Linked DNA regions of Homo sapiens: all the other regions are linked to region 1. The links are contacts of gene promoters, found by promoter capture Hi-C in blood cells and fetal thymus (Javierre and others, 2016). All regions are on one chromosome and are shown on one strand. The core of a region is centred on a gene start or on the middle of the fragment in contact, and the rest is flanking DNA. Distances in the headings are between cores, read along the strand shown. Region 1 holds the start of FAM89A (family with sequence similarity 89 member A). Region 2 overlaps FSAF1 (40S small subunit processome assembly factor 1). Region 3 overlaps TTC13 (tetratricopeptide repeat domain 13). Region 4 overlaps TRIM67 (tripartite motif containing 67).

The links. Contacts are between HindIII fragments. The CHiCAGO score rates a contact against its expected background, and 5 or more counts as called.
Region 2: a contact is called between a fragment that was not itself captured here and the fragment with the promoter of FAM89A in region 1, in 6 of 17 cell types (naive CD4 T cells, activated CD4 T cells, total CD8 T cells and 3 more). The highest score is 7.3, in naive CD4 T cells.
Region 3: a fragment that was not itself captured here is called in contact with the fragment with the promoter of FAM89A in region 1 in 6 of 17 cell types (naive CD4 T cells, non-activated CD4 T cells, total CD8 T cells and 3 more); the score reaches 7.8 in naive CD4 T cells.
Region 4: a contact is called between a fragment that was not itself captured here and the fragment with the promoter of FAM89A in region 1, in 1 of 17 cell types (erythroblasts). The highest score is 6.1, in erythroblasts.

What each region holds. Positions count from the first base shown.
Region 1 is chr1:231,038,540-231,044,461 of GRCh38, forward strand. FAM89A (family with sequence similarity 89 member A) reads right to left here and starts at 1,715. Exons shown (of 2, transcript NM_198552.3): 1 at 1,382-1,715. The coding sequence starts at 1,672. RefSeq lists an enhancer at 393-1,074 and silencers at 737-816, 1,457-1,506, 1,767-1,876. The HindIII fragment of the contact is 3,223 bases long and covers 98-3,320 here.
Region 2 is chr1:231,232,666-231,238,819 of GRCh38, forward strand. All of the region lies in intron 2 of FSAF1 (40S small subunit processome assembly factor 1), which reads right to left. Among named protein-coding and RNA genes, the nearest start is that of FSAF1, 5.4 kb to the right of the region's middle. The HindIII fragment of the contact is 164 bases long and covers 1,206-1,369 here.
Region 3 is chr1:230,909,289-230,914,889 of GRCh38, forward strand. TTC13 (tetratricopeptide repeat domain 13) reads right to left here. Exons shown (of 23, transcript NM_024525.5): 19 at 3,335-3,470; 20 at 2,182-2,261. Among named protein-coding and RNA genes, the nearest start is that of C1orf198, 44 kb to the left of the region's middle. The HindIII fragment of the contact is 7,430 bases long and covers 1-5,601 here.
Region 4 is chr1:231,193,795-231,199,439 of GRCh38, forward strand. TRIM67 (tripartite motif containing 67) reads left to right here. Exons shown (of 10, transcript NM_001004342.5): 2 at 3,577-3,672; 3 at 5,253-5,375. Among named protein-coding and RNA genes, the nearest start is that of TRIM67-AS1, 9.0 kb to the left of the region's middle. The HindIII fragment of the contact is 1,207 bases long and covers 1,747-2,953 here.

The DNA of each region.
Region 1 (5,922 bases), core at 465-2,964:
TTAAAATGCAGTTCACCAGCTGTGTGATGCTTATGTCAATGAATGTTTTTTAATAAATTAAAAACGGTTGGCTTGGAATTTAAGTGGTTCTGTAAGAAGCTTAGAAAATCTTTTCAGTGAGAATTGGAAATCACTTCAATGCCAGCTACAGAGTAGGAAGACAATATCTCTTTGATTAAAAGTGTTAAGGCTGCTTTCTGAATTCAATTAAGTCTTAGTTTTCAGAACAGATAATGCTCCTGAAAAAAAAGTATGCATACCCTGAATTTTTCTAAACAATATCTTAAATGCACTAGATACATATTTAAAAGATTCCTATAACAATTTATTTTTTGGCAAATTTAGTTTTGGGAAAAGGCAGCTTTCCTAATGTTAGATTTCTTAACAATTTACCTATAGGGAAAGGAGACAACCTGGACGAGGTGAATGGAAAGGGAGGCTTTTAAAACGAGGGGATTGGGAGGAGGTGATGGGGGCCAGTAAGATGGTAGAAAAGAGGAAAAGTTTTTGATTTCTTCTTGCCTGGCCTACGCCTGGCCGAGAAAGCTGGGGAAAGACTCGCTGTTGCCTAAATCCCTGCCCTTGTCCTACTTTTAGCGTCACCCTAAATCATGTGTGTTCTGGTCCACAAACAGCTAATGTACTTCCCAAGCACAGAGAAACACTGAGCCCATGGTATGGAGCTTAGACACAAGGCGAAGAACTCACATGGACAGCACCCAGACCGGGAGGACAGCCACCTCCCACCTTTCTCAAGAGGGTTTGGGCAATCAGCTTCGCGGGGCTGAGGGACCCGGCCGCCTCCCTCGCCCGGGGTGCGCGTCTGCTTTCGCAGCCATCTGTGCGCCGGGGCCATCCCGCGGTAATCGGATCACGGACGCGCGGCCTGGGGCGCCGGAAAGGGGGCCGGGCTGTTCCAATCTGCTGTCTACACTGGCGGCGGACAAAAGTTGTCCTCTTCGTGGTAGGAAAACGCAATCGCGTTAATCCGTTGGGCCGCTGTGAAAGCCTTTCCCCCACCGGGAAGGTCTGTTTCACTCGGGGAGAGGTGACAAGGCCGCCCCCGCCCCCAGGCCAGGCACGAACCCCGCACAGCGCTTCCGGGCGCCCAGGTTTCCGAGCCAGCGGGGCCGGACTGAGGGCGCCGGGCATAAGAAAGCCGCCCTCTGCGCGCGGGGCTCTCCCGCGGGGGTTCCAATCGTGGGCACGGAGCACGCGAGAAAAATGGGGGTCGTTGGGAGGACGGCGCCGGCGCCTGGGGCGGAGGAGCCCGAAAGGGCGGGTGGGCGCGGGGACTTCCGGACAGAGCGCGGTCCCCGCGAACTTTCCCGGGACGGCGAGCCCGGCCGGGAAGAGCCCCAGCTCGCGGAGCCCCACTCACCATCTCTTTGCGGAGCAGCGCCAGAGCGGCGTCCAGGTTGGGAGGCTTGGCGGGCAGCGCTGCCGCCCGGGCCCCGCCGCCGCCCGGGCCCCCGCGGCTCAGCTCGTCCTGGATGCGCGACTTCTGCGCGTACAGCCGCTCCAGGTGCCGCCAGCCCCCAGACGCGCCGCCGCCCGACGCCGAGTGCAGCAGCCCGCTCAAGCTCTTTGGCAGCGGGGGCAGCCCGTCCACCCGCAGCCCCCGGACCGCGCCGTTGCCCGCGGCCCCGGGCGCCGCCCGGGCCCCACTCATCGCGCCGCGGCCCGGCCACGCGCCTGCCCCGCTGCAGCGAACCAAGGCTTTCCCCCGGCCCGCCCCCTTCCCGGCGGTGCCCCGCCCACTTCCCCTCCCGCGCCACGCCCCCCCGGCCCCGCCCCCTCTCCTCGAGGCCCCTGCGCGGGCCCCGGGTCCGGGTGGCGTCCGCGTCCAGCAGCCGGGCTCGCCTCCACCCGGGTCTCCTCCTCCCTCGCGCCCCTCCAGCGCCCTAATTCATCTCCAACTCCGCGTGACTACCCTCTAACCCCCCGACTCACCTCCAGCCCCGTCACGAACCCTTCTGTGCCACTCCCTAGCTCCGAACCTACTAAGCCCCCCGCGACCCGCAGCTTCCCGGTTCACCCCCATCTCTGTCCCCACCTCCTCTGAACCACCTCCCAGCTTCCCGGCTCACCCCTAGCTCCGAACCCTCTCACCCGCGCCACCCCGAACCCCAGCTTCCCGGCTCACCCGCATCTCTGTCCCCACCTCCTCTGTGCCAACCCCCAGCTTCCCGGCTCACCCCCAGTTCCGCCCCCACGCCCTCTGTGCCACCCTCAGCTCACTGGCTCACCCTCAGCTCCGAACCCACTCACCCCCCACCCCAGGCTTCCGGATCACCCCCATCTCTGCTCCCACCTCCTCTGTGCCACCCCCAGTTCACTGGCTCGCCCCCAGCCCCGTCTCCACTCCCTCTGTCCCACCCCTCAACGCCCGCTCACCTCCAACCCGGCTCCAGACTTCCCCCTTACCTGCCAGCGCTCCTCAGCTCCTTGCCTCACCGATCCCTGCCCTGCCCAGGGGGCGGCCCAGCTTCAGATCCCACGAAGCAGGCCGTTGCAGGGGGTGGGGGTACCGAGGCTCTGGCTCACAACCGGCAGGACGTCGAGGGCAGGAGGCCTGGCTCTGGTCCCAGGACCCCCGGCCCTCCCCGAGGGCGGAATCCAGCCCGCCTCCTGCTGCCTCCCACTCGCCGCGGGGGGCGGCTGGGGGCCCCAGACCCGGGCAGGTCGCTCCTTGCCGCCGGGCGCGCTGGCCTTCTCAGCACGGCCTTGTCCAGCAGTACCCGCAGCAGTCAGCAAGAACGCCAGACCCACTTTTGAAACTTCAAAACACTAGTAAACATGCCTTTCATTCTGGCCATAAACACAAGAGTAACTCTAAGTGGAAATGTCAGGAAACCAGAGAAAGGGATTAAATCTCGGAAATTATCCATCAGCTCAGGCAAAAATAAACACGACGCACACCTCAGAGGAAAAGAGAAGAGAGAGAGAGACTCTGCCCCTCCCAGGAAAAGTAAAAATGACAGGCAGTTATAACCAGATTAGAGATAGAAAAGATCAAGAAGTAAACGCTACAGCCCAACCGCAGATTAAAAACTAATGCAGTGTATAGATTGGATAACTTTAATGCCCATTCATTATTGGCTTTAATTATAAAGGGATTTAATTTTCTAGCTACATTCAAGGGGATCAAAATTATAAAGTGTTCTGAGCACTTCAGACACCCAACATAAAAGAGCCCTGCACTTTGGGTTGTTTTATACCCTTTACCACCTCCTAGAGCCCACCCCAGAAGCAGTGTCTTTGAAATTGGCACAATATTCTCCCTGGACGGTTGCAAGTGGGTGAGACTGATATGAAGAAGCTTTAGTGCAGGCGGTGTGATTGACAGCACCCAGGCTTCCCACCCCACCCACTGCCCAGAATTTTCCGCCTCTTCACTGTGCCTCACCTTCTACTAATTACCTAGTCACATTTCTGGATGTCAGGTATTTATTCATTCACTTATGTAAACGGTGGGTGTCTTCAGGAGAGTGACCAGTCTGCCTGTGTGGGAGTAAGGGAGAGGAAGGGGTGGGAAGCATTTTGACATTCGGTTCACACCTTAGCATGAATTTTTTTTTTTTTATGAGACAGTCTATCACTCAAGCTAGAGTGCAGTGGCGTGATCTCAGCTCACTGCAACCTCTGCCTCCTGGGTCAAGCAATTCTCCTGTCTCTGCCTCCCAAGTAGCTGGAATTACAGGCATGTGCCACGACGCCCGACTAATTTTTGTATTTTTAGTAGAAATGGGGTTTCACGATGTTGGCCAGGCTGGTCTCGAACTCCTGACCTCAGGTGATCCACCCACCTCGGCCTCCCAAAGTGCTGGGATTACAGGTGTGAGCCATCGCGCCCAGCCTGCATGAATTTCTTTAATTTCACTGGTTACAATGCAGTCTCACCTGTAGTACCTAGCAGAAATCACTCAAGGTAGGTGATAGGAGATTCAGCTATGTGATGGTGAAATAAGAAAAGAAATCACTTTGAAGTATCGGGGCACTGAAAGCATTTTAAAGCACATACTTCAGAGAATTACGGATTACAGAAGGAAAAGGAGGTTAGGGTCAGCTAGACAGCAGCATGAGGTCCGTGGTGTCAGGACTCGAGAAAAGAGGCACAACTTAGACAATGCCAACCTTACCAATTTTTTTTTTCTTTTTTGAGATGGAGTCTCACTCTGTCGCCCAAGCTGGAGTGCAGTGGCGCGATCTTGGCTCACTGCAACCTCCACCTCTCGGGTTCAAGCAATTCTCCGCCTCAGCCTCCCAAGTAGCTGGGATTACAGGCACCCGCCACCATACCCATCACCATCTTGGCCAGGCTGGTCTTGAACTCCTGACCTCACGATCTACCCACCTCAGCCTCCCAAAGTGCTGGGATTACAGGCATGAGCCACCACGCCAGGCCAACCTTAACATTTTAAAGGCAGGCTCTGCGTTCTGGCCTATACTCAGTGAGGTAAGAGTATTGAAATCAGTATCAACAAATAATATCCCAGGGTAAGGAGAAGTTTCTACAGAATTTCTGTGGTGCTGGTGAAGACATTATTTGTACAAGCCTGAAACTATTATATAACAAATATTTTGACATCCTTGGGGAATGTTAGTGTCTGTTTATTCAAATGCCAATATAAAGTACCTTTTAAAGTTCATGCTTATAATGAGAGAGAAGTAGTAAATAACTTCTGACAGTGTGTTTTTTTGCATTAAGCCACTGAAACATTACCTTAGTCCATTTAGGCTGCTATAACAAAATACCTGAGACTGGATAATGTGTAAAGAACAGAAATGTATTGCTCACAGTTTTGGAGGCTGGAAGTCCAAGATCAAGGCACCAGCTGACGTGTGTGCTGAGAGCTCATTCCTCATAGATTTCACCTTCTGGGTGTCCTCACATTGCAGAAGGGGCCAGGGAGCGCCCTCAAGCCTCTTTTACAAGGGCACTGATTCCATTTACAAGGGCTTCACCTTCATGACCTAGACACCTCCCAAAGATCTCACTTCAATACCACCACATGGGGGTTAGGTTTCAACATATGAATTTGGGGCTGGCAGGGGGCACATACATTCAGACCATAGCAAAACATCTGTATTCTGAGTTCAAATCAGAGTGAGTCTTCATCATCACCCATGCAGCTGAATTAGTCTTTTCTGTTTTGTTTTGTTGTTCACAGGCTCTTGGAAATCAGAAAACACAAACTTCTAATCCAGTGCTCTATTCATTAACCCACATCTTTTCTTAGACTTTGTCAATCAAGGTTAGGGACCTGGGCCTTGGAGCACAAGCCTCAGAGTCACCAGTATCCAGGCATTTACTTAGAGATTATTCTCATGTGCCTCCATCCTGACCTTCCATTAACCCAGCCACTAGGTTCCTCCCCACCTCTAATCTCTGCCCACTTGTTGTTTGCTTTTGGGAACTCTAAAGAGTCTTTTTGTGCGTTTTATTTATTTTTGTTTTTTTTTATCATTCTCAAGTTTAATAACTTAGGTTGTTAATAGACTAGAAAGAACCTGAAAAAGACACCAGAAGTCCAACTGAGCTTGCCTTTTCAAGCTGATGACTTTAAATGCCGCTAACTATAGAGAAGTTTATCTTGCCATTTTTCATTTGTTGCAGAACCTAAAACTAGATTACTTTGAAAGCAACTGTGCAATGAATTTGGGCTACATTTTAGCAAATGTGTTTATTTCAAGACATAATTTCTTATATTTCAATCATTTCTAAAACAAATTGTAAATTTTAAAGGTTATATAATGCCTCTTAAAGATTTTTGTATGCAACTATGTGTACATATAAATGGGAAACTTGGCATTTAATCATAGAGTCCTTTATATAGTTTTTAAATTGTTGCCTTGTCACTTCAACAATATTTTTTATTTGGCCAGAGACAAGGATGATACTTTCTTTGCTATAGCACA
Region 2 (6,154 bases), core at 38-2,537, 190 kb after region 1:
GGAGATTCTGAGAACTTATATGCTGGGCAGGGAAGAAGGAAGAAAAGCTAGAAAAAGAAAGAACAGTTTGGAAGAAAAGTGAGAGATGAAGGCAGGCAGTCCACCAGATTCAGCAAACCCGTCTATGGGGTGATTTAGGTATTTTCTCTTACGCGGCTTAGATTTTCTTTCTTTTTTAATCTATTAGTTGAAGTGCCCAACCAACCTGTCTCCAATTAGAGAGAGAGTAGCCCGGTAAACAAATGCTCTTTTAAAAATGCAGACGGCTGTATGAATATTAAGAAGTTTGTTCACACCTTGATGAGCCTAAATTACTTCAGCTAGATTACTTTCTTCCTAACACCCATCTGACACTGATCTACTCAGGAACAGGAAGTCTGGCGTAAAAGTAAGAAGAGGCACTGGAGCATGGAGGATTTCCGGGTGGAGTACCATGCAGTGGGCTACATCCACATTGCGGGGCAGTATGAGAGCTGCAAGAATTTGGGGAACGATCAAAGCTATTTGACTATAACTTGCAAGAAATGTCTCTGTCTGGCGATGGCTCAGAGTCAGTGTACTTGTGTCACTCAAAGGACAAAGAGCAGAGCCTAACCTCACCTATGCTCTCTCTAGTATAAAAGTTATGTACACAGTGTTGAAGCCAGAAAGCCTGGGGTCTGAACCCAACCTTTGGCACTTACTTCAGCTCCATAATCCTTTATCTGGCATCCTTAGGGTCAGGTTCCAGCTTTAAAATTCAGAAGTCTTTACATTTTAAAAAGGCAAAACTGAATATACTGAATATTACAGACCACTTCCAGTAGGGTCCAAGGCAGTAATCCATAATTAAACACATTAATATTTCTGTGGCAATATCTATGAATATTCACACCAAATGAGATGAACAAAAAATTTTTTTTTTTGAGACGGAGTCTTGCTCTGTTGCCCAGGCTGGAGTGTAGTGGCACAATCTCGACTCACTGCAAACTCCGCCTACCGGGTTCAAGCGATTCTCCTGCCTCAGCCTCCTGAGTAGCTGGAACTACAGGCGCATGCCACCACACCCGGCTAATTTTTGTATTTTTAGTAAAGACAGGATTTCACCATATTGGCCAGGCTGGTCTTGAACTCCTGACCTTGTGATCCGCCTGCCTCAGCCTCCCACAGTGCCGGGATTAAAGGCATGAGTCACCGTGCCCAGCCGAACAAAAATGATTTTTAAAAGCTTCATCAGGTTTTTCTGCCAAATAAATCTGCACCAATCTTAAAAGAAAAGGGATCAATCAAATTGTGGTTTCCAGAGCTCTGGGTGTTTGGAATTGCAGATATGGGGCTGTGAGGTTAATGTTTAACTACAGGCAAGTAACTTAACCTCTTGTAAGTCTCAAGCTTCTCTGTGAAATGAAGACAGGTGCCAGGAATTGTGAGGATTGAGACCATAAATGAGTTAATGAACATAAACAAACACTCTCAGTACACCCCCAATAAATATTAGCAATTCGCTATATGCTCAGGGGCGGCCTTCATGTACCTCAGTCTCAGGATGCAAAGGTCCCTTCTGATCTACAGAACACTATTCTATTATGTGTTTCTTATCTCTTTCTTATCTGAGGCCACAAAAGAGGCTAAGGTTCCTGAAACAGGGGCAGTGAATGATTCACGTTAAGATGGCCCAATGCTAGCTGTGGAGAAATGGCAGTGACACAGCTCTAAGGGCTGAGCAACACACAGGTGTGTTAAGCTACATCTGACGCTTTCATTGCTTAAAAGCATAAGAATTTTCTTCCTTACAGGCAGCCTTGCACTTATGAAAGAGTAGGTTTGCCCATTCATTTTTTTGAGATCACTAGTCCAGGCCACGCTATTTTGAACCTGGACCACTGCAACAAACCCCTACATCAGTCTCCTCATGCCTCTTGCTATTGCTCCCTTATAATCGATTCACCACATAGGAGCTACAGTGATCGTTTTAAAATTTAAATCAGATTACCTCATGCCCTTGCATGAAATTCTTTGGTGGCTTCTCATGTACTTAAGACTAAAGTCCCAAGGCTCACTACTGCCTATGAGACCTGGCAAGGGCTGGTCTCAGCCTGTCTCTCTTGTATTAGCACCAACCATTCTCCCTTCTGTCCTAGTCTTGCTAGACTTCTTCCAGCTCCTTGAACACACCAGGCCTCTTCATACCCCACAATGTTAGCAAGGCTGTTTTCTCCCTCCTTGGCTCACTCTTCCCTGCCCCATTCACCAGCACCATTTAATACAGCATTAGCCTGAATGTTACCTCCTGAGAGACCTCCCTGACCACTACATCTAGACCAGGTTCTGCATGGTACTCCAGGACCCTATTTGTTTATAATTCTTTCTAATTATATTGCTCAACTCCAAAGTAGATTGTACAGTATACTCCATAAAGGCAAAGCACTATTATCTTCTTCACTGCTCCATCTGCAAGGTCTGCAGACAGCAGGCACCCAGTGATTGGTGGAATAAATGGAGGAATGAATATGTGATCCCATACTATTTCCAGCCAAATTACTTGTATAGTCACTACATTAAAAATGGGACATGGGCCGGACGCAGTGGCTCACGTCTGTAATCCTAGCACTTTGGGAGGCCAAGGAGGGCAGATCACGAGGTCAAGATCGAGACCATCCTGGCCAACATGGTGAAACCCCATCTCTACTAAAAATACAAAAGTTAGCTGGGCATGGTTGTGTGCACCTGTAGTCCCAGCTACTCAGGAGGCTGAGGGAGGAGAATCGCTTGAACCCGGGAGGCGGAGGTTGTAGTGAGCTGAGATCAGGCCACTGCACTCCAGCCTGGTGACAGGGCAAGACTCCATCTCAAAAAAAAAAAAAGGGACATGATGGCTGGGCACAGTGGCTCTCACACCTGTAATCCCAGTGCTTTGGGAGGCTGCGGCAAAAGGACTTCTTGAGATCAGTGGTTCAAGACCAAGCCTGGGCAACAAAACAAGACCCCAACTCTACAAAAAATTTTAAAATGAGCCAGGCATAGTGGTGTGCCCTATAGTCTTAGCTACTTGGGAGGCTGAGGCAGGAGGATGGCTTGGGCCCAGGAATTGGAGGCTGCAGTGAGCTATGATCACACCACTGCATTCCAGCAGGAGTGACAGAGTGACACCCTGTCTCTAAACATAAAAAAATATATATAAATGGTGGCCAAGTTCCGAGATGACCCCATGAAAACCTGCTTCAATGCACGATGCAGCTTAATCATAGAATTTATAGCACAAGTTCTGGAAAAATAGGGTAATTTCCTGGGTCTAGGCAGGGCCAGCTGGATTGTTGTCCAACTCACCATCCCCTTCTTCCTTTCTCAAGCATTCTCTAAAAATGACCAGCTGATGCTATGATTGGTCATGGAGATTACCATTACCCATCATATATTTTTGCCACCCATGTCTGTTTAACTGTCCTACAATGGCTTAGAAGTTTTTAGAGAACAAGGGCACAACTATACTTTCCCATGTTACACAAACTCAGCACAGCTGGTGTATTCCAATTAGCACCAGTTGGCTGACTACCCTTTAACTTGGCATACCCAGGATATGCCATAAGAACTAGCATTATATTCATGTGTATTTATTTCCACACCGCAATGTCAACATTCTGAGGTCATTTTACAGGTGTATGTGTTTTTAATGTGTCCACATTCTGTTTCCTTAACCAGACACACTCACATTTTCAAAGGACACATTTAAAAAAAAAACAAGAGGAAAGGGCAGAGAGCAGCAATGACAAATGAAAATTTTCATTAAGGTCAGGAAGTTCAAAACGTAGAGTGAGCTGAGGCTCCTGAGAAGAGCCAACTAGAATGCATCAGGGCTCGCTTGGAACGGGAAGCAAAAGACAATTTGACAGACTGCCACAGATGTTCTATTATTAAGCAACAGGGAAATGCAGACTCATTCAATCCCAACTCTTCTGTCTTTTCTATTAAAAAGAAAACTTTCCATTCCAGAAAAAAGAACATGAGGGAATATAAGAGGAAACTGAAGTCTGAGACATTTGAAGAAACAAGAAAGGGTGCCTAAATGCTTTATGTTAGTTGAAGTCTTCAAATGCTGAATTATATTGCAAAGCAGTGCTCACCAACATTTTTCATATCATGACACATACAGAAAATACCAGTATTTGTAGGGTACACTGGGGTACTGGGAGATGGCCAGCTTCGGGGCTCTGGTTGCCCCAAACACCAAGGGAATCCATTTCTTGACCCTCCCGTAACAGTTCCCAGAGCCTTATATTTGGAACATAAGAGTTAAGAAGCTTATCTAGAATCCTAAAATAAAGGTAGACATGGTTACAGATTCACTAATAATCTTTTTTTTTTTTTTTGGAGAAAGGGTCTCGCTCTGTCACCCCCGCTGGAGTGCAGTGACACAATCACAGCCCACTGCAGTCTCGACTTCCTGAAGTCAAGCAATCCTCTGGCCTTGGCATCCCAAAGTGCTCGGATTACTGGCGTGAGCCACCACGCTCAGCCTGCAGAATGCGCTAACGATCTTTGAGGAAGAGATGCCAGCAAGCTTGATATGAAATGCTACCTGAATTTTAGAAAAGATTATACAGATGGTTTTTAAAACCATAAAGATGTGGCAAACACTGGACACTAACATACATTTATACATTCATAAAGAACAATGCAAGCCAAACCATCTTCGTAGTGGGTAGAATTGTGGCCTCTAAAAACATATGGCCATGTCCTACTCCTCTTCAGAACCTGTGAATGTGATCTTACTTGGAGAGGGATCTTTATAATTAAACATCTCAAAAGGAGATCATCCCAGATTCAGGGTGGGCCTAAAGCAAAGAGGAAGGCAGAGGGAAACATGAGACTCAGGGACACAGGGATGAAAACCACATTAAGACGGAGGCAGAGATTATAGTTATGCAACCACAAGCCAAGGAAACTGTTAGAGCTACCTTCTGGTCAGAGGCAAAGGATTCTCCCCCAAAGCCCTCAGAGGGAGCATGGCCCTGCCAACACTTTGATTTTGGACTTCTGGACTACGGAACTGTAAGAGAATACATTTCTGTTGGTTTAAGTCACCATGTTTGTGGTAATTTGTTATAGCAGGCTTAGAAACTAATACGTTCAATCCTCACTTCTTTGTTGATAGACAAAGGTTTGCAGGACGTGGGGGATGTTACAGAAATGGAATAGCAATGAATTTGTCAAAGCCATTATGATATTCTTGTGAATAGATAAATTAAAAACATTTGGGGCCAGGCGCAGTGGCTCACGCCTGTAGTCCCAGCATTTGGGGAAGCCAAGGCGGGCAGATCACGAGGTCGGGAGATCAAGACCATCCTGGCTAACATGGTGAAACCCTGACTCTACTAAAAATACAAAAAACTAGCCAGGCGTGGTGGCAGGCACCTGTAGTCCCAGTTACTTGGGAGGCTGAGGCAGAAGAATGGCATGAACCTGGGAGGTGGAGCTTGCAATGAGCTAAGATCGTGCCACTGCACTCCAGCCTGGGCAACAGAACGAGACTCCGTCTCAAAAAAAAAAAAAATTAAAAACATTTGGAGGAGCAACCACACCTCCCTTGGGGACTGAATTTTAGGTGAGATTTACAAGCTCACTCTGAAAAAGATTACTGCTCAGAAAAATCAAATTGCTTTTCCACCAGCATTGCTTTTCCTCGAGAGCAAGAATTTCTATACATTTGGTTCACTGCTATATCCCAGTGCCTACAACTGTGGCTAGCACATAACAGGAATGCCAGAAAGAGTTGCTGTAAGAGTTAACTCAGCAGGCCTGTGTTTACCAAACCCTGCACATTCCCAAGAAAGTCCTATTTTCATGACTGGCAGTTGGCTGCCTCCTGAGAATTGAGCAATTAGAATATTCTGCCTGATCAGAGTGTTTTTGCATACCTGAGGTCTTGAGCCACTGCTGTACCAAGTTTTCCCAGACAGTTTATACTAGCAATGTGATTGATGGTGAATACCTGCTTTTCACTGGAGGTCTAGAACTTGAATAACTAAGGTCAGTCTGTAGGCCTACATGACTGATAAGGGCTATATGCTGAGTCTTGGGTCCTGTGAGTCCTTTTGGCAAATCTGCAGGCCTGAGGATAGTCAGGCATTCCTGCCACAGTCTAAAGAGCTATTCACCTAATACTACAATACCAGGG
Region 3 (5,601 bases), core at 824-3,323, 130 kb before region 1:
AGGTCAGGAGTTTGACAGCAACATGGCGAAACCCTGTCTCTACTAAAAACACAAAAATTAGGCCAGGCATGGTGGCTCACACCTGTAATCCCAGCACTTTGGGAGGCCGAGGTGGGTGGATCACTTGAGGTCAGGAGTTCGAGACCAGCCTGACCAACATGGCAAAACCCCATCTGTAACAAAAATACAAAAAATTATCCAGGAGTGGTGGCATGTGCCTGTAGTCCCAGCTACTTGGGAGACTGAGGCAGAAAAATTGCTTGAACCCGGGAGGCAGAGGTTGCAGTGAGCCGAGATCGCTCCACCGCACTCCAGCAATGCATGTATACAATAAAGTTCATAAATACAAATACATATGTTAGTCTTACTTTTTAAGCATTAGAAATGCTGGCCTTCAAAGAAGAAATGCAGAATACATTCTCACAATGTACTAACGGACAGATGGTTTGGAGATTTGGGCATGTGTGTGAACTGCCAGGGCTCCAAGGTGGCTGTTAGAGGCCAGGGGATTGTGGGGTACCTTTGCCTGCTGGCTCGGAGGCTCGTGGGGCAAGGTCTGCTGCCCTGTCACTCCAGAACGAGTGTAGAGCTGCGAGTGTGCAGGTCTGGGGTAGGAGGCATTTGTAAGACGTTGTGCTTCTGCTCTTGGTGAGGGAAGAGAGGGAGCTGACTGGTTTTGGGTGGAAGGGGCTGGCAAAAGGCCATGGGACCCACTATTGTAACCACAGTGTTGTGCTTTTCCCAAAACAAATCGGCTCAAAATAAAGACAGCTCTCACCCATGAGATAATGCATCCTAGCAGGTGGAAAGGATGGCACGAGCACCTGAGAAAGCTAACAAGTGCCATGGGTGGACACCAAGAAAAGTGAGTCAAGGTGATTCATGGGGTTCTCCAGCAGGGAAGACTTCAGAGGCTAAAGACATGTGCTCTGCAACCTCCAGGGTCCCAGGGCTGAAGATGAAAGGGGCAGAGAAGGCAGGGAGATGTGGCAGAGAGCCCACGTGGAAAGCCAAGGGGAAGCAAAAGAGCCACGGAAGAGAGCGGTGCTGCAGCCAAGGCAAACCAGGGCAGGGCAGGGCTAGCACTGCGCACTGTGTATGCTGCCAAGCTCGGCTTAAACCCATGGTTTTCAGAAGGTGCTGGAGAGCCGCAGGGCACAGAGAGGAGCAGGAGCAAAGCTAGCTGTGGCGGGTACAGGGAAGAGAGAAACAGAAGTGTGGGAGGCAGAATCAACAGACTATTTAGGATTGAAGAGATGTAGGGATGAGGCAGAGTTGAGGACAATCAGAGCTGCACGTCCTTCAATGTCACACGTGAGCCAGCAGAGCTGCTGTGAGGACAAAGGACGGATGCTGGCTGTTGAGTACAGTGGGGCCCACAAGCGGTGATGTGCACAGGCCTCACATCCCTTATTCAGTGGACACAACTAGCAATATTATGCTGATAAGACAACATTTATGTTTCTATTTTGTTTCAATGAGTCTTAAATTCTATAACCAAATTTACTACCACACTTAGGGGAGTTTTACTTTCTAAGCCATTAATCAAAGATAAAGACATTCAAGTGTATTATTTTTAGCCAAAACATCTTAAGTTCAACTATGTGCCAGTAATGGCAAAAGGCCATTTACATAATTTACTGCACACAGTGCTGGGAAAAGGAGAATGAAATGAAAACTCTACAGTCATAGCTCTTGTTTTAATGATACCTAAAAAACTCCTGATATACAAGTAGCAAGAATTTATCCAAAATAATAAAAATAGTACAGAGTGACTGTTGGCCCAAAAGTATAAAACATGAGGATTATGGGTCACCTGACAGCCCAAAATGGAAAAGGAAGAGGAGGAGGAAGAGGTTCAGTAAGAGGCTGGCAGATACAAAAAATTAAAACACACTGAGCACGGCACATGATACACAGTAAACTTTCCATGAACTTGTGTTGAATGGATGAATCCCTATCCTATTAAACGTAAGCACACTATATTAGAACTGTCTTCTATAATTCTTTTGCTGATGTGATAGACTAAGGAAATATTTTTTTGTGCAGATTTTGGAAAAAAATAGGGAGCTCCTTACCATTTCTTTGTGTACTCTGTACCTATATCCATAACAGGAAGGATAAGCAAAAAAGAACACATTTCTCAATTTAAAATAATTTTAATGACAGGATATTACTTACCTGGATCCTCGAGAGAGTGGCATTAAATTATAAAAGTAATAAACTAAGGATAAGATTAAGTTGCAGACAGCATCAGCCTCCTAGAAAAAAAAGATACAGACTCATAAATACTATAAAGATTACAAACTAATTTTTCATTAGGTGACAGAACACACAAGAATAATCTACATCAAGAAGAGGATTGTTTTCTTCCTCCCCCATAAGAATCTACTTTTCAAATTCTTGAATATTCTATACCCTTTTGTATCATTTTTTTCCAATTTAGTTCAATTTAGAGCAATGTTTTCCCAGCTGTTTCTTAAACTGCAACTCTTGGATAAACATAAAAATCTCAGTCTCCTTTAACGTTATTTGAAATGTCAAAATATATATTGTGACTAAAATTTTAAAAGGCATTTATTAACACCAAATATGTTCTCTCAAACAACATGTACCTTACCCCAAAAGATCTGGGTAAGCCCCTTCCCCTACTCCGCATTGAGATTTGGATGATGCTCAATTATGTGTATAAACTTAGATGTTTAATTATATGGATGCAGTGATTAAATGTTGGAGAAATAAGGTGACTTTTCAAGGGTAAGGGGCACCCGTCCACTGCAGAACACAGAGAAGGGGCGTGGTGGGGAGAGAATGTCCACCATACCCTGCTGCCTGTAACGACTCCACCTCGAGTCCAAGCAGACAACCAAAGAAGAAGGCCACAGACCAGGAAAGGGCCGCCAAGTGCAAAGTATACACAACTTCATTATACTTTCCTTGCCATTAACTCATCAGAATGCATCATCCAGTTTACATTCAAAAGCTCCTTGTAAATATACGGTTATAAGCAACAACCGCAACGAAGGGAAGAAAATGGAAGAAAAAGGTGAAGCCCAGGTCATTTTCATTATGGACCAGCTTTTTTATATCTTGTCAAAGCCCAAACTTATGATAATGTCATAGTGCAGTACTAAATTATTAATTTATTATCCTCCCCATTACTGTAGTTACTAAATACAAGAATTTTTGCCTATAAGAAATAAGAAATATTTTTAGGTCAATTCAACCCAATTTCAAGCATAAGATGTACAATCTCAGTGAAAGGGCAGAGGTTCAAAAAATTTACAAAAGAATCATAGGAAGAGCAGAAAAATGGAAACAAAGAGAAACCTACCCCAAATTCTGATGAAAGAATCAATACTTTTCCTTTTGCTGTCAAATCTTTATAAAGTGCATCTATTTCAGCATGATATAATTGTGTCCTTTCTTCCGTGGTTTGAGTTTCCACAGAAAATAATATATTGCCAACTCTGAAAATACAAAAATAAGTGTGAAAGGCATGTATTATAAGTTCAAACAGCCAAACACAGAAAGTTTTTTTTAAAAAGCAAATAGCATACTGACGTAGCACTAAACATATACAAGAATGTACCTTACCTTTCTAACTATAGACAAGCAAGGTAGGTTTCATGAGAATGCATTCTTTCTTCATAAAATGTGATAGTTGCCTCACCTTTAAGTGACCAGTAACTCATTTGCTCACAGTTAAGTCTAACTACATGTACTTATTACACAAACTTAAGCTAATATATGGGAAAACAATGACACATAGTAAAGAATGCATTTAAATAACCAGTAAATATTTTCTAAGCCACCCCATTAGGATTAAAGGTCAGAAGCAAGAACTGTGTGTAGGAAGAAAGTTCAGGGACTACACCATGGTTCTGTTTTTTATCAAAACAAAAAAAAAGTGGAGCTGAAGCTCCACTGAGGTTCTGTGGAGGATATAAGTTTGATACAACAGGCATTTTTTGTATAACGCCACTAGCAAAGTGTTGCATTTAGTCCTCGGAGCCTACAAAGAAAAGCTCAGCTGCTGCCTTGATTGAGGAAGGAAGGAAGAAACGGGGCCACAAATTATTATTATAAGAAATGGGATCTTGCTCTACCACCCAGGCTGGAGAGCATTGGCATGATCATAGCTCACTGCAGCCTCAAACTTTTGGGCTCAAGTGATCTTCCCGCCTCAGCCTCTTGAGTAGCTGGGACTACTGGTATGCACCTGTAGTTATTTTTAAAAATCTGTTGCAGAGGCAGGGTCTCACCATGTTGCCCAGCCTGGTCTCAAACTCCTGGCCTCAATCTTCCCATCTTGGCCTCCCAATATGCTGGTATGAGCCACCACTTCTGGCCAAGGGCCACAAATTATTATGAAACCATGACTCAGGTCATAATGTAGCTCATCAGAGGTTCAAAAAAGGAATCTAATTTGGACAACATAGAGAAAAGCAGGAAAGGTCTCATGGGAGAAGTGGCCTGAACATGGGTCGGGATGGGAGTGAGAGACCCAGACATTGGAAAGCAGGGGTGAACTGGGGAACAAGCATTCCAGTCGGACTAGCAGGCCAGGTTCCAACAGGGAGATGGTCCAGGTCAAGCAGGAAATGTCTGAGGCCACTTTGTGAGAGGCTGTGAATGCCTGGCAGGGAAGCTGGTTTGGGTAGCCACAGGCAATGGCTGGGTATGGAGAGGGGAGAGATTTGTGGAGCTAGGGGAACGTCCAGTGAGGTGGAGCTCTAGCAACATTGGTGAAGTGCTGGTGAAGCAGGAGACAGAAGATGGGATGCCAGGCAGAGTCGACTCGAGGGGTCAGGAGGCCCAGAGCAAGGGAGGCAACAAGTGAGGTGAAGCAGGAAATTGAGGAAAGATGTCACGTTTCAAGGGGAGAAATTTCATGTACAGTTGACCCTTGAACAACATGGGTTCGAACTGCATGGATCCACTTATACGAGGATTTTCTTCCACCTCTGCCACCCCTGAGACAGCAAGACCAACCCCTCCGTATCCTCCTCCTCAGCCTACTCAACGTGAAGATAGTAAGGATAAAGACCTTTATGAGGATCCACTTCCACTTAATACATAGTTAAGTATATTTTCCTTATTATTTTCTTTTTTTTTCTCTTTTTGAGATGGAGTTCACTCTGTCACCAGGCTGGAGTGCAGTGGCATGATCTCGGCTCACTGCAACCTCCCCGTCATGGGTTCAAGCGATTCTCCTGCCTCAGCCTCCAGAGTAGCTGGAATTACAGGTGCGCGCCACCAGGCCTGGCTAATTTTTGTATTTTTAGTAGAGATGGGATTTCACCATATTGGTCAGGCTGGTCTCGAACTCCTGACCTAGTGATCCGCCCGCCTTGGGCTCCCAAAGTGCTAGGATTACAGGCGTGAGCCACTGCGCCCGGCCGACTTTCTTAATAACATTTTCTTTTCCCTAGCCTACTTTACTGTAAGAATACAAAATATAATATATATAACATATAAAATATATGTTAATCAGCTGTTTATGTTTTTGGTAAGGCTTCTGGTCAACAGTAGGCTATTAAGTTTTGGGGTAGTCAAAGGTTATATGCAAATTTTTGCCTGCTGGGGTGGGAAGGTCAA
Region 4 (5,645 bases), core at 1,100-3,599, 160 kb after region 1:
GGGAGCTGCCAGGCTCTGTTTAACAACCAGTTCTCGTGGGGACTAATACAGTGAGAACCCGCTAAGCAGGAGGGGAGGACGGTACCAAGACACTCATGCGGATCCACCCCTGTGACCAAATACCTCCCACTAGGCTCCACCTCCAAAACTGGGGATCAAATTTCAACATGAGATTTAATGTGGCCAAAAATACTATATCCAAACCATGACACCACGTGAGGACCTAACCCAGAAGAGGGCCCTCACCCTGAACCAACCGCACTGGCACGCGGATCTCACACTTCTAGCCTCCAGAACTCTGAGAAATCCGTGTTTGTGGCTGAAGCCCCAGGTCTGTGTGTTCTGTTGCTGCAGCCCGAGCTGACCAAGAGAGGAGGGGCCAGCCACAGCCCCAGGGGGCCCATGCTTTGGGTGGGAGTCTTGGAAAGGGGTTGCTATTCTTTCCCTGTCCCTGATAAACTTCAACTTGAAAACTCCTGTCATTAAAGATATCTTCCAGGGCCTGTGAATGATGCTGACCCCTCAGCCTCCTTTTGAGGGTGAGTATCCTGGGATGGGTGGAGTTGTCCTGGGCTCTGCACCCCACTAAGGATGTGGCAAAATTAAGGCTGTCAGGGCAGAAATAATTTGATAAAGGTTCATTGGAAGCCAAGTGTGAGGCTCGACTGGGGAAGACACACCAACAAAGCTGGGCATGTTCCAGAGCCTGTCACAGGTTGGAAGGCTTATCTAGAAAGTGAAGGAGAAGGGAGAGCTCCTCCTATCAGAGTTGTCCTTTTCCATTGATGGCTACAGCACAGAGGTTACATTCATTGGCTACAGATGACAACATACAGGCTAACATTCCATGTGCAAGGCGATCAGTAAAACTTTGTGATTCAGAAACAAATGTGTCATTTTTATTTTGAGACACAGTCTCACTCTGTCACCTAGGCTGGAGCACAGTGTCATAATCATAACTCACTGTAACCTCAACCTCCTGGACTCAAGCCATCCTCCTGCCCCAGCCTCCCGAGTAGCTGGGACTACAAGCACACACCACCATGCCCAGCTAATTTTTAAAATTTTTTTATAGAGAGAGGGTGAGGATGAGGGAGGAAAGCGGGGCCGGGGAGTGCGGCAGGGAGGTCTCTCTATGTTGCCCAGGCTGGTCTTGAACTCTTGGCCTCAAGCAATTCTCCTGCCTCTGCCTCTGAGTAGCTGGAATTACAGGAATGAGCTACCCCACCTGGCTTCACTGTCCTTTTTGATGTCAGTAGGTTATGTATTAATCAGTATGTCAACAGTTTGAGGAACTCACAGTAAGATTTGAGGGCCTCGGGATAAGAGCCTTTTCTCAGAGACAGGATGTAAGCCATGAATCACGAGGCCTTTCCCAGGAGGTTAATCCAGAAGCCTGCCAAATGTGACCTGTAGGTTATCAGATGGGTGTCAAACCTGTGCTCTCCAGGACTAGCCACTGGCTAATCACACATGGCAGTTGCAACTTACCCTAAATAATATGAAAAGTCCAGCTCCTCAGTCACATTAGCTACTTCAAGTGCTCAGTACCCACAGGCAGCTAGCGGCTACCGTCAGGGACAGAGCAGACCTGAGACGCTTCTGCCATCACTGTATATTCTATGGGATGTTTCACTGCCTAGGTGCTGGCAACAGATGGTGGTACACTGTGGGCCAGCTATGGAGTGGAGAGCCTAAACCCACTGAGGTGGGGCTGGGAGTGGTGAGGCTCATGGTGTAGGAAAAAGCTTCTCCAAGGAGCTGCACCTCCGCTGATCCTTAGCCTAAGGCTCCTGCTCTCTCTGAGCAGACAGCCTAGACCTTGACCTCTCCTTGCGTGCTGGTGCTCCTGGGGACCGGGCCCCCTTCCTTGTATTTCCACCTACTCCCTGTGTCTTTTTGTGGGCTTCCTTTGCCATCTTCTCCATAGGTTTTCAGTGGAGGCTGCACTTGCACAGTCCAGGGGATCTCAAACTGCATCAGAACCCCCTGGAGGGCTTGGTAAACCGCAGACTCCAGGGCTTCACCCACGACCTCTGATCAGCAGATCTGGGGTGCAGCCAGAGACGGTGCACTTCAACAAATCGCCCAGTGATGCTGATGTTGCTGGTCTAGAACCACACTTTGACAACCGTTGGTGTGGTCTAAAGAATCCCATTCACTGATTCATGCATTCAACAAATATTTATTGAATGCCACCATGTGCCGGGTACTCTTCCAGTGCCGGGATAAGCTGTGAGCCACCCAGCAAAGCCCTTGTCCTTCATTCTAGGACATGGAGATGGACAGCAAACAAGTTTTCTAGGTTGGGTGGTGACGACTGTTAGGAGGAAGAATAAGCCAGGGGAAGGCGAGGGGGATATTGCACAAGGTCGTGAGGAAAGTCCTCACTGACACAGTGACGTCTGAGCAGAGACCTGGGAGGGGACTTGGGGGAGAAGGAGACCCTGGCCCTTCTGACTCTGCTTTGTTCTATCCTCAGCTTTTTAATGTGGAAAATGAGAGTCATGTAAAAATCAGGGTCACAGTCTGGATGGGCGTGATGGCTCACACCTGTAATCCCAGCAATTTGGGAGGCCAAGGTGGAAGGATCACTTGAGACCAGGAGTTTGAGATCAGCCTGAGCAACACAGCCTCCGAGACACCATCTCTACTAAAAAATGCAAAAATTAGCTGGAGGCTGATTTGGGAGGATCACTTGAGCCTGAGAGGTTGAGGCTGCAGTGAGTCATGATTGAGCCACTGCACTCTAGCCTGGGCAACACAGTGAGACCCTGTCTCAAAAAAAAAAAAAATCAAGGTCACAGTCTACTCAATAGCTAGGTTTTAAAGACAAATTCAATTGTGTGTGTATGTGGTTCGTTACAAAAAAGCCTGGTGCCAAAAGCCATAGATTTGAGCTCAGCTTGCAATTTCACCCTTGGGCCACAGCAACTGATCCTCATGCTTCAGAAGCTTCTGCTGGTCACACCCCTCTCTGCAGGGTGAGGAGTCCCCAGGGCTAAGGGTACCAGGCTAGGAGCCTGTATGCCCCTTTAGAGGATGCCCTAGGATTACCAGTCCATACACCTAGTCCAGTTCCAGGACCCACAGCCCCCTTCCTGTCCATCCCTCAGGGCATACCAGGCCCCAGGGTTTGCACCCCAGGCCAGGAGATGACTGTGTAGGGATGGGGTGGACGGAACCTGACCTGGGGTCTGGAATGTCCATACAGGCATGTACTGATTATGGATAGAGGGGGCCAGGCCAAGCCAAGGACTCTATTTATCTTCTTGTCTTGGGCTCTACAAACATCAGGGGCAGACCTGTTTGCTTCAACCCGTTAGCTGAGTGCTCCTTACCTCTATCCAGCTTTGGGGATGAGAAAGGAGAGTGCAGGCCAATCTACCACTGTTGGAAAAATAAACAAATGTTGTAGAGATCATGGGTCAGTGGTGGTCCCTTCATCAATGAGAACAGCAGATGCGTGGGATCAGTCCTATCCCCTCTTATAAACATAAGCTTTTATGATGAAGTGCAAATTTTCTGTGCCTTTCACAACTAATTTTTCTTTTCAACATGTGATATCTTTTTCAGGCACAACTATCTCAGGCCTTAAATGGAGTTTCAGATAAGGCAAAGGAAGCAAAGGAGTTTCTGGTTCAGCTAAAGAACATATTGCAGCAGATCCAGGTGAGCACAGCTCTGGCGTCGGGAGAAATACTCAGTGTTGAAAGTTTGCACGTTGTGCATCGTATTAAGAAGAAAGAGGCGGGGCACGGTGGCTCACACCTGTAATCCCAACACTTTGGGAGGCCGAGGCGGGCAGATCACCTGAGATTGGGAGTTTGAGACCAGCCTTACCAACATGGAGAAACCCGTCTCTACTAAAAATACAAAAATTAGCCGGGCGTGGTGGCGCATGCCTGTAATCCCAGCTACTCTGGAGTCTGAGGCAGGAGAATCACTTGAACCTGGGAGGCGGAGGTTGCAGTGAGCCGAGATTGTGCCATTGCACTCTGGCTTGGGCAACAAGAGAGAAAGTCTGTCTCAAAGAAAAGAAGAAGAAGAAGAAGAAGGAGAAGGAGAAGGAGAAGGAGAAGAAGGAGAAGAAGAAAGGAAAAGTCTTGTAGCAAGCATTTTCTCAGTGATGGACATTAGAAGGTTTATGTGTCCTACCCTATAGCCTTGGGTGCTGAAAGTGTCACATATTCAACTCATTGGCACACAAGTGACACCTGATACAGGAAAGGACTTTTACATGGAGCCAATTAGAGAGAGCTGGAAAGATGTGATCTAGCACTCTACGTGCCATGTCGTCGTCCTTTGTGGCATCTGTATATGGTGCTTTTGTGGCCGAATATGCCCATGTCATCAATGCATCAAAATATAAATGCATCATTTTCTAAACAAATGTGTTTACTGAACTCTTATGCTGTGTCATGTACTGAGCCCAGCACAAGATACAAAGATCAATGAGGCACCATGTGTGCCTCAGGGTCTGTCTATAGGGGAGAACGTGCACACACAGGTGCTCCTGTGTGAATGTGCACACATAGAGGAACTGCTCATAAGATGAGAAAGCATTAACATATCTGGAGGAATAAGAGGGACTGAATTCTTTTTTTTTTGAGACAGAGTCTCACTCTGTCGCCCAGGCTATAGTGCAATGGCACGATCTCAGCTCACCGCAACCTCCGCCTCCCAGGTTCAAGCAATTCTCCTGCCTCAGCCCCCTGAGTAGCTGGGATTACAGGCATGTGCCCCTACACCCAGCTAATTTTGTATTTTTAGTGGGGACGGGGTTTCTCCATGTTGGTCAGGCTGGTCTCCAACTCCCAACCTCAGGTGATCCACCCGCCTTGGCCTCCCAAAGTGCTGGGATTATAGGCATGAGCTGCCGCGCCGGGCCTGTTCTATTACTTTAAACACACATACACACACACACACAATGTATGAGATTATGCTGTGAATAACGTGTATCCTGACTTTTTTTCTTTCTTAACAGTCTCTCATGAGCATTTTCTCATGGCATTAAAAGTGCCCTATGAACAAGATTTGAATGACTACAGAATATTCTGCCATATGGCTGTGATGAGATTCATAGTACCTGCCTTAATTCATATAAATATTGTCTCTAATTTAACAACATTATAGAGAAATCTAGGATGAACTTCTCTGAAATATATCTTTGTCTATAGCACTCACCAGATTTTAGCATCTTCCCCCTAAAACTCTTTGCTTCTTCCCAACCAACCCCCAACCTCTGCCAGGAAAACGGACTGGACTACGAAGCCTGCCTCGTTGCTCAGTGTGATGCCCTTGTGGATGCTTTAACTCGTCAGAAAGCCAAGCTGCTCACCAAGGTGACTAAAGAGAGGGAACACAAGTTGAAGGTAGGTACCTGGGGGACTGACACATTGAATCCCTGCCACATCCTCTGCACCCAGCGTGGGGTGGAGCACAGAGTAGGCACTGGGGAAATAACAGCTAAGTGAGTGAATGAATGAGCTAATGAATGAATGAGGCAAGGAAGGGATGCACCAGCTGGTTCGGTTACATTCATGTGACCTGACAGAGACCAATCAATATGCCCTGTGTCCTGAGGGTTTCAAGTCAGAAGTCCACCCTCTCCCTCCCTGTTTCTGTCTAAGGGACTATTCTTG